Regions from separate parts of the Homo sapiens genome. Here all the other regions are linked to region 2. The links are contacts of gene promoters, found by promoter capture Hi-C in blood cells and fetal thymus (Javierre and others, 2016). All regions are on one chromosome and are shown on one strand. The core of a region is centred on a gene start or on the middle of the fragment in contact, and the rest is flanking DNA. Distances in the headings are between cores, read along the strand shown.

The links. Contacts are between HindIII fragments. The CHiCAGO score rates a contact against its expected background, and 5 or more counts as called.
Region 1: a fragment that was not itself captured here is called in contact with the fragment with the promoter of DLD in region 2 in 1 of 17 cell types (non-activated CD4 T cells); the score reaches 7.4 in non-activated CD4 T cells.
Region 3: a fragment that was not itself captured here is called in contact with the fragment with the promoter of DLD in region 2 in 2 of 17 cell types (non-activated CD4 T cells and total CD4 T cells); the score reaches 6.0 in non-activated CD4 T cells.

The regions. Positions count from the first base shown.
Region 1 is chr7:107,204,931-107,207,678 of GRCh38, forward strand. All of the region lies in intron 21 of COG5 (component of oligomeric golgi complex 5), which reads right to left. LOC124901720 (a long non-coding RNA gene) reads left to right here. Exons shown (of 2, transcript XR_007060471.1): 2 at 763-2,748. Among named protein-coding and RNA genes, the nearest start is that of HBP1, 37 kb to the left of the region's middle. The HindIII fragment of the contact is 5,186 bases long and covers 1-2,748 here.
Region 2 is chr7:107,889,908-107,892,607 of GRCh38, forward strand. DLD (dihydrolipoamide dehydrogenase) reads left to right here and starts at 1,276. Exons shown (of 14, transcript NM_000108.5): 1 at 1,276-1,382. The coding sequence starts at 1,344. RefSeq lists enhancers at 977-1,056, 1,014-1,696, 1,207-1,446 and a silencer at 1,507-1,616. The HindIII fragment of the contact is 5,175 bases long and covers 1-2,700 here.
Region 3 is chr7:107,185,867-107,188,566 of GRCh38, forward strand. HBP1 (HMG-box transcription factor 1) reads left to right here. Exons shown (of 11, transcript NM_012257.4): 4 at 1-76; 5 at 495-606; 6 at 703-815. Among named protein-coding and RNA genes, the nearest start is that of HBP1, 18 kb to the left of the region's middle. The HindIII fragment of the contact is 2,132 bases long and covers 252-2,383 here.

The DNA.
Region 1 (2,748 bases), core at 28-2,527, 680 kb before region 2:
ATCAACTTAAGGTCTCTTAGTTCTTTTCCCCTCCTACACCGAAACAATTACCAAATCCTATTAATTTGCTACACACATTTCCACATCCAGTCCCTCCTCTCCCCTTCGCTTCACTTTGAACCCTTGCTATCTTGTGCCCTAATGATTGCTGTAGCCTCTTAAGGTGGTGAGCATCCTACTGCTGTTTCTCCCCTGTTCTGGTCAGTCTTCCATATTATAGCAAGAGATTTCCCCTGAAGTATTACAGCACTTGCCGTGCCCTGTTCTTTATAGGAAATCTGGAAAGGTCTGACTTCTGTATCAACAGCCTTGACTTAGCAGGATCCAGCATTGTGGAATTCCTGAAGGCTGGTTCCATGCTCTGGTCAGTGCCTAGACTCAACCCAACTGAATACCAGCTTCATCATCAAGCTGCTCCCAGCCCTTTCTGTGCTACTGCTGGGTTTTAGATAGCTTGATGTGGCCTAAAAAGACCCTCAAATCATTAGTTTCCATTTTTGTGTTACCAAGTAATGTGCAAAGCATATTTGCCCCATTTGTATGGCCCAACCTGGCTGCCCACCTAGGGAAAGATCAAGGGTGTTTGTTCATACATTGCTATGAAATAAAGCTGTCTCTGCCTAACAAAGTAGGGGGTGCCAAAGGGCCTGTTTATCTTTGGCCATACTGAATGTTTCAGTTAAAGAGCCACATTCTCTTAGCCCTTTGCACATTATCTTCCTTATCCTTAGAATACCCTTCCTTGCTTACTTTCTTGCGCAGCTCTTTATCTCTTAGGACTCGGCTTCAATGCTCCCTTTTAAGGAAAGCCTTTCTTAACTCCAGGCAGCAGGAAAGAATGGAAACCATCTTGGAGTCACACAGGTTTGTGAAACGATCTCACCTCTGTATCAACAGCCTTGACTTAGTAGGATCCGGCACTTTGGAATCCCTGAAGGCTGGCTCCATGCTCTGGTCAGGGCAGGAGTACTTTAAATCAGGTATGCAGGGGGATGGGCAAGCCCTTACTGAAGAAGTGTAGCTGTTTTTTTTTTTTTTTTATTTTTTTGAGACGGAGTCTTGCTCTGTCGCCCAGGCTGGAGTGCAGTGCCGCAATCTTGGCTCACTGCAAGCTCCGCCTCCTGGGTTCACGCCATTCTCCTGCCTCAGCCTCCCGAGTAGCTGGGACTACAGGCGCCCGCCATTGCACCCGGCTAATTTTTTTGTATTTTTAGTAGAGACGGGGTTTCACCGTGTTGGCCAGGATGGTCTCGATCTCTTGACCTCGTGATCCGCCCACCTGGGCTTCCCAAAGTGCTGGGATTACAGGCGTGAGCCAGAAGAAGTGTAGCTGTTTTAAATAACATGTAAGTTCATACCATTACTCAGCTCACATACCCAGTTTCAAGTCCCAGCTAACATACCACTCTCAACTGGCATGCAAGATGGAATTTAGTGCTCTTAGAGAACAATGTTTTGTGAGATGCCTTAGTTAAACCAGAGCTGACCCTGAATGGAGATATTTTTCTATGAAAAAAACTTGCTTCTTTTGGTAATATGCTTCTAGTTGGTATGCCATCCTGGGAAATTGTCTCCACTCCCCAAATGTAGTCCCTACAGAATCATATACAGTAAAGAAATCCCCAAGGGCTCATCTGTCTTTAAGACACCAAGGTGTATGTATCAGCGTATAAGAAGTGTTTAAATTCACAGGAACTACAATCATTTCATAGTGAATGGATTAGATATATTTGATGGACAAAAATCAACTTAGTTTCGTTGGCATTTAAAAGGATAAGACATCACGTAAGTTACACAACATGTAGAAGAGATCAGAAATGAGTTTGGTTAGATTTTTGGGTAGTCATCAAAAACACCATCAGAAGTATGGGGCAAAAAAGATTAAGCTGCCCTCCCACATGAAATTAGAGCAAGATTTTCGAGTACTTATTAAATTACTTCATTTGCTTAAGCAAAACATTAGCTTTCTTGGAAGTCAGGCCAAGTGTTATGTAACAGTTAGTCTTAACTCTGGTTTGTAACCAAAATAAGTAGATTATTGAGGTTATCCTTATTGAGAAAAAAAACACGATTAGTAGAGGAATGGTTTGTGGTAACATGGCAACACTGCTCAACATGACAAAAACTAGCCAAGTGGAAGTTTTCATGGAAAACAACATTGATTTTTGTCAGGCATTTAAATATTCAATGTGATTAGTAAGTACTGAAATGCATAAATGACTTAAAGATACACTACATGCCTCAATAAGCAGTTAAGCCCAGGCTTTTCCCTGGTTCCATCCTCCCTCTTCGTCCTATTTCAGACACTCCATTCACAGAACTGATAGGTAGCTAGTGACATGGTACCAGGAGGAGAAACATTTCCCTCCATCGATGGAGATCTTGGGAGTTCTGCAGAAGTACAGAGGAGCTGAGGGAATGGCTTCCAGATTGTGGACCCTGGACCATGGCAAGAGGGCAAGGGATCCAAGGATGCACATGGCACCAAGCATTCTCTGATGGTGTAGATAAAAGTACCACTAGGCTAATAAGGTCTGTGAACATTTGTGTACTCCTACTCAAAGAGGGCCATAAGAAGAAGAGTTGCTCTCCACGGCAAATATCCAGAGTAAATGGATTTGAGGCCAACCCCACCGCTGTTACAGAGCTTGAGAAATCTTTCCATCAAAGACTCTATCTTTATTGAAAACACATTCAACACTTACCCACAGGCACGAGCCAGGCGGCTGCCTCTGCATCTGAGGGAGC
Region 2 (2,700 bases), core at 26-2,525:
AGGAAAGAATTGTGAGATTTTGTGCATATGGAGCAGTAACTCCTAGACCAGATGTCAAAGACTGCCATGAAGCTGGAGAGGAGACAATTCTCCCCATCTGTGTGGTGGAGGCTGCTCAATGTCCCCCAATTTCGCTTCATCTCATCTTGCTTATTAATACAATTTCAGTTAGGCACTCAGCTGACAGGACTATGTTTCACAGATCCCCTTGCAGCTAGGTGTGGCTTTGTAATCAGATGGAATGAGGGGATATGATTGTAGAAACTGGAGCAGCCATCTTGAATGAAAGATGCAAGGCAAGCTCTGATGATGGCAGAGTCACGAGATAAAAGGAGCCTGGGACCCTGTCACAGGACAGAGCTGCCAGCAATACCGTCTCTATAACAAACACTAAATTTAATTATTCATATCTAAATCTGAACATAGGCAGTAATTTCTAACCAGTGTTTAGCCCAGCACAAGGCCTGGGTGGTAGACTTCCAATAAATGTAGAATTAAGTTTATTCACACTATATAGACTTATTGCAAGGCAAGAATGAGACCTTAGACTTTCGTGCTCAATCTTGAAGACAATGTTTTTCAACCCTTTTCAACAGATTCTCTCTCAAAACCTAAAATCTCATCCACCATCCCACTCTCTTTTTACCAGGGAGATGTGTTTCTCAACTAAAGAAATAGAAGAAAGTGTGTTCTCTACGTATTGTCAGTTAGCTAATTAGAGCAGAATGCTGGTGATGCCAAAATCTGTAGCCCCATCCCTTATATGGCATTTGAGAGGAGCGAGTATAAAGCAGTAGATAATACCAAAGGTTTTGGCCTCAGGGCCGCAGTTATCTCTCCTTTGTGAGACCTTGGGGGCACTGTTTAACCTCTCTGGGTCTCATCCAAGAAATGGAAATACTAATAATACTCCATATGGTTGTTGCAAGGATGAAATGAGATGTCTGTAGGAAGTGCCGAGGAATGCCTAGCACAACCAAGAGCTTGTTGAACTTGTCACGCTTTACTGTCGATAATGTGCATTAAGCAAACGCTAGTTTTATTTGTTTATTTCATCTTCTAAGTATAAGAATACATTGTAGCTCGACATTTTGGCACCAGCCCCTAAAGCATTCCCACCACCACCCCCGCTGCGACAAAGCCCTGCGCTCCTTACGACAGCGTACGACGCCGAGCCTGACAGGAACGCCTCGTGCGGTAGAACCGCGCGGGCCAATCGCGCTGCTCCCGGGTGATGACGTAGGCTGCGCCTGTGCATGCGCAGGGAGGGGAGACCTTGGCGGAGCGGCGGAGGCGCCCAGCGGAGGTGAAAGTATTGGCGGAAAGGAAAATACAGCGGAAAAATGCAGAGCTGGAGTCGTGTGTACTGCTCCTTGGCCAAGGTGAGGGCCGAGTAGGTGAGGTCGTGTTGAGCCAGAGGCACGGAAGGTCCCGCTCAGTGGGTCCGGTACGCGGCTTAACCGTGTTGGGCTGGCGGAGGCGGGCGCCTGGGCCGCACCACCCCTGGCCCCGCCTCTGCACTGGCTCAGCCCGGCCCTGGGCTCCGAGGTGGCCGCTCATCCTGCAGCAGGCGAGGGACGGGGCTGGGCCCAGGCTGTGGCGAGTCCTTTCGGGTTGTGTGACGGCCGGCGGTCACACATGCCACACCCCCAAGCCTGGGCCGAGGGCCATCCCGGTCACACATAGGCCTCTACCTTGGAGGAAGTGTAAGCCACCCATGTCCCGTATAGTCTGGCTTTTTATACCATTTGCCTTTTTCTCATCCTAATTCTGATCCCTGAGTGGCCTAAGTTTATGCAGTGGGCAGGTAACCCTGGGGTCACTTCTTGAATGGTTTAGATCCAGTCAGCTCCAACAGATAGCCCTCGGAATTCCCCTAAGGTCTTGTCAGTGTTGGCAGCTTTCAACTGGTGTTCATTGCCATCTCTCACGACTTCCTGGAGGCTTAAATCTTTAATTGCAGCAGGTTATCAGAACAACTCTCCTTTTTAATCTGCTTACCAGATACAGCCAAATTGTGTGTATGTGGCACCGTGGCTGGGTACTATGTTAGTGGAGACCTTAAAAATAATATAGCGATCAAACCCTTTTGTTTCAGAGATGAGGAACCTGAGTTCTCAAAAGTTAATGTAACATTCTGCAAGTCATGCTTTTAGGGAGCGGCGGAGGTGGGACTGAAACTCAGGATTGTCAATCTGCTGCTTTTTGGGTTTGCTGTCCTGACCTCAAATGTTAAGAGTTGCCTTGGAATAGGAAACATCAGTGTAGGTTTTGTCACTGCCGCCCATTTTCCTGCTGTGAGCAGGGGTTATTTGCTTGCTTGCTTTCTGCCTCATTGCCCTTAGGAAATGGTAGCCGTCCACATATAGAGATTAGGGAGATTATGATGCAATTTGTCAAACTGTAGTAGCACCAGAACGTAAGTACATTACTTGGTGCATTTTCCTAAGTTACCTTGTCTAATTTGCTATTCCTAGTTGATGTCTCAGGAACATCTTCATAGATTGTTCTAAGTAAATACGGACTGTATATACACGCTAGCTTAGAGTTAGGAAACAAAAATTACAGGTAAAAAGATTATCATGTATAGATTATTCAAGTATTTAAGTTAGAACTTTCAGAGCTTTATTTATTTATTTATTTATTTATTTATTTTGAGACGGAGTCTCACTCTGACATCCAGGCTAGAGTGCAATGGCA
Region 3 (2,700 bases), core at 68-2,567, 700 kb before region 2:
GTCCTCTTCTTCGAAGAGTGAACCAGCCTTCCCTCATCACCATTGGAAGGAGGAAACACCAGTAAGACACGAAAGGGTAAGTTTATTTATGAGGTTAAACTTTTACAAAGTTTGTACAACAGTTGAAGTACATTAACATTCCTCATAGGAAGTAGTCTCACTGTTCTGTTAGTGATCTGGATTTGATTTTATATACAGCTCTGCTATGTGTTAGGAAAGCTTATTATTAATGGGAATGTGCGTATAACTAAAGCTTCCAAAAACTTTGTTTTGTGTGTGTCTTTTTTTTCTTTTTTTTTCTTTTTTTTTTTTTTTTAGCAAATTCTCCCACAGCCTGACAACCCTCAGTTTTTGAAGGCATTATATTTTCCCTAAGGTTAGAATTACTAAGTTATCCACCTATAAGCATGGGCCTAAAGACGTGGGATGAAAACAGATATTAAAAGGTATATTTTAAAAACAAATAAAAAAGTTGATAATATTTTTCTCCATAGGCAAATAGTGAGTCAGAATCTGGCATTTTCTGCATGTCCTCCCTGTCAGATGATGATGATTTGGGATGGTGCAATTCCTGGCCTTCAACTGTCTGGCACTGTTTTTTGAAAGGTAAAACAAACAAACAAACAAAAACCTTGAATTTTCCACAGCTTACTTGTCTAGTACAGTCACGTGTCTAATACGTGTTTTCTACCTAAACCTTAGGCACACGACTGTGCTTTCATAAGGGAAGCAATAAGGAATGGCAAGATGTTGAAGATTTTGCTAGAGCTGAAGGCTGTGATAATGAGGAAGATCTTCAAATGGGCATTCACAAGGTTGATTTAAAATTCTTAAAAAATTTTTCAAAATCTTTCCAAATGAAACAAGATTTATTGTTAATCTACAGAAATATCCTCCATTCACTTTGATATTTAAATGACATCGTACATTTTAGGTAGAGCATTTTTATGACCACTCATTGCTTAGTCTGATGGGGAGGAGCAATGATTTTAGGTTTGCCTTTCTAACATGCTTTCTTGGATGGGAAATAGTATATTTCTTGGTGCTTCTTCGTGTTTTATACACTTTACAATGGGGAAAACTGGTATTAAAAATATGTAATGAGGTCGGGCGCAGTGGCTCATGCCTGTAATCCCAGCACTTTGGGAGGCTGAGGCGGGTGGATCACGAGGTCAGGAGATCGCGACCATCCTGGCTAACGCGGTGAAACCCCACCTCTACTAAAAATACAAAAAAATTAGCTGGGCGTGGTGGTGGGCGCCTGTAGTCCCAACTACTTGGGAGGCTGAGGCAGGAGAATGGTGTGAACCCAGGAGGCAGAGCTTGCAGTGAGCCAAGATTGCGCCACTGCACTCTAGCCTGGCAACACAGTGAGACTCTGTCTCAAAAAATATATATATATTTATATGTAATGAATAAATAAACTAACCAAAGCCTTGCCTTAGGTAATCTACAAAGTGATTAATTCCCCTGTAGATTATTGAAAGCCAATTATATTAAGTTACTTTATATAAGTTGTTTCATATTAAGTTACTAAAACTAGCATTTTCTAAGTCGATGAGCAAAAGCAGTAGCGAGCAATATTAGGATAAAGTTGACACCTTTCACTTTGAAATTTTTAATTTCTCCATCTCTCCTGTAGGCAAGAAAATGGGCATGTGAAGTGTGCTTGTACAAATTCTTGTTTTGATCCTGCTATGTCTCACTATTAAGTCTCTTGAGAAAAATTGTCCTGTCTTGGCTGCCTTCAGTTTCGTCCCCTTGCTTTACTCTTCACTTTAGTGAAGTTCACAATAGTCTAACTTTGGCCTCTACTACTCTACAAAAATTGTCTCAAAGGTTACTAGCTTTATTCTGATTTCTAGGAAGAGAGACGTCGTTTGTTCTGTTTGACATCTGTACAACATTTGACACATTGGGTTAGTTCCTGACATTGTCTTCCCTTGATTTGTGTAGCATGGCAGCATCCTGATTCTCAGTCTTTTAGGCCTGGTACTTGACTGCCCGCAGTGCTGAATATTAGACAAGATTTTGCCCCCTTCACTTTCTTCACCAGTTCCTCTCTCCTGATAATGTCAGCAGCACCTCCATCATGTCCTGTGGAATGCACTCTGGACTTGGAGTCAGGAAACCTGGGCTCTCTTTATAGCTTCTCCAGCAATTATCTGTGTTACTGATCTTAGGCAGATTGTTAACCCCTCTGAGTATTGGCTTCCTGATCTGAAAAATGGGATTGGATTAGTTTTAAGGTCTCCTGCAGCCCTGAGAATGGGAAGATTTTGTAATTTCGTTATTTGCCAATCTATGTCTATAGCCTTCACCTGCACATTTCCAGCTGCATGTTAGACATCTCTGCATGAATATCAGTCAGTTCTTTGAACTAAGCTTAGTGTGACCAAAACTGCCCTTACCTTTTTCTTCCTCTTCTTGGCTTACTTTCCTCCTATTCTTTCAAAGTTGTTATTATCATCCTTCTTGATTACCAGATTCAAAACCATGAAGTTGTCTTTTACTATTCTATTTCTTCCCTTTATTTATATTCATTTGATTCTAATTCTGTAAAGATTTTTAAGTCATCCTCTCTTATTCATGACCTTGTTCATGCGTTAGCGTAATTATGATTGGATACTATAGCAAGCTTTTGGCGTGTTTGTCTCCTTTGTTTTTCTGTGAATGTAAGGGTAAGGATCATGTTTGTTA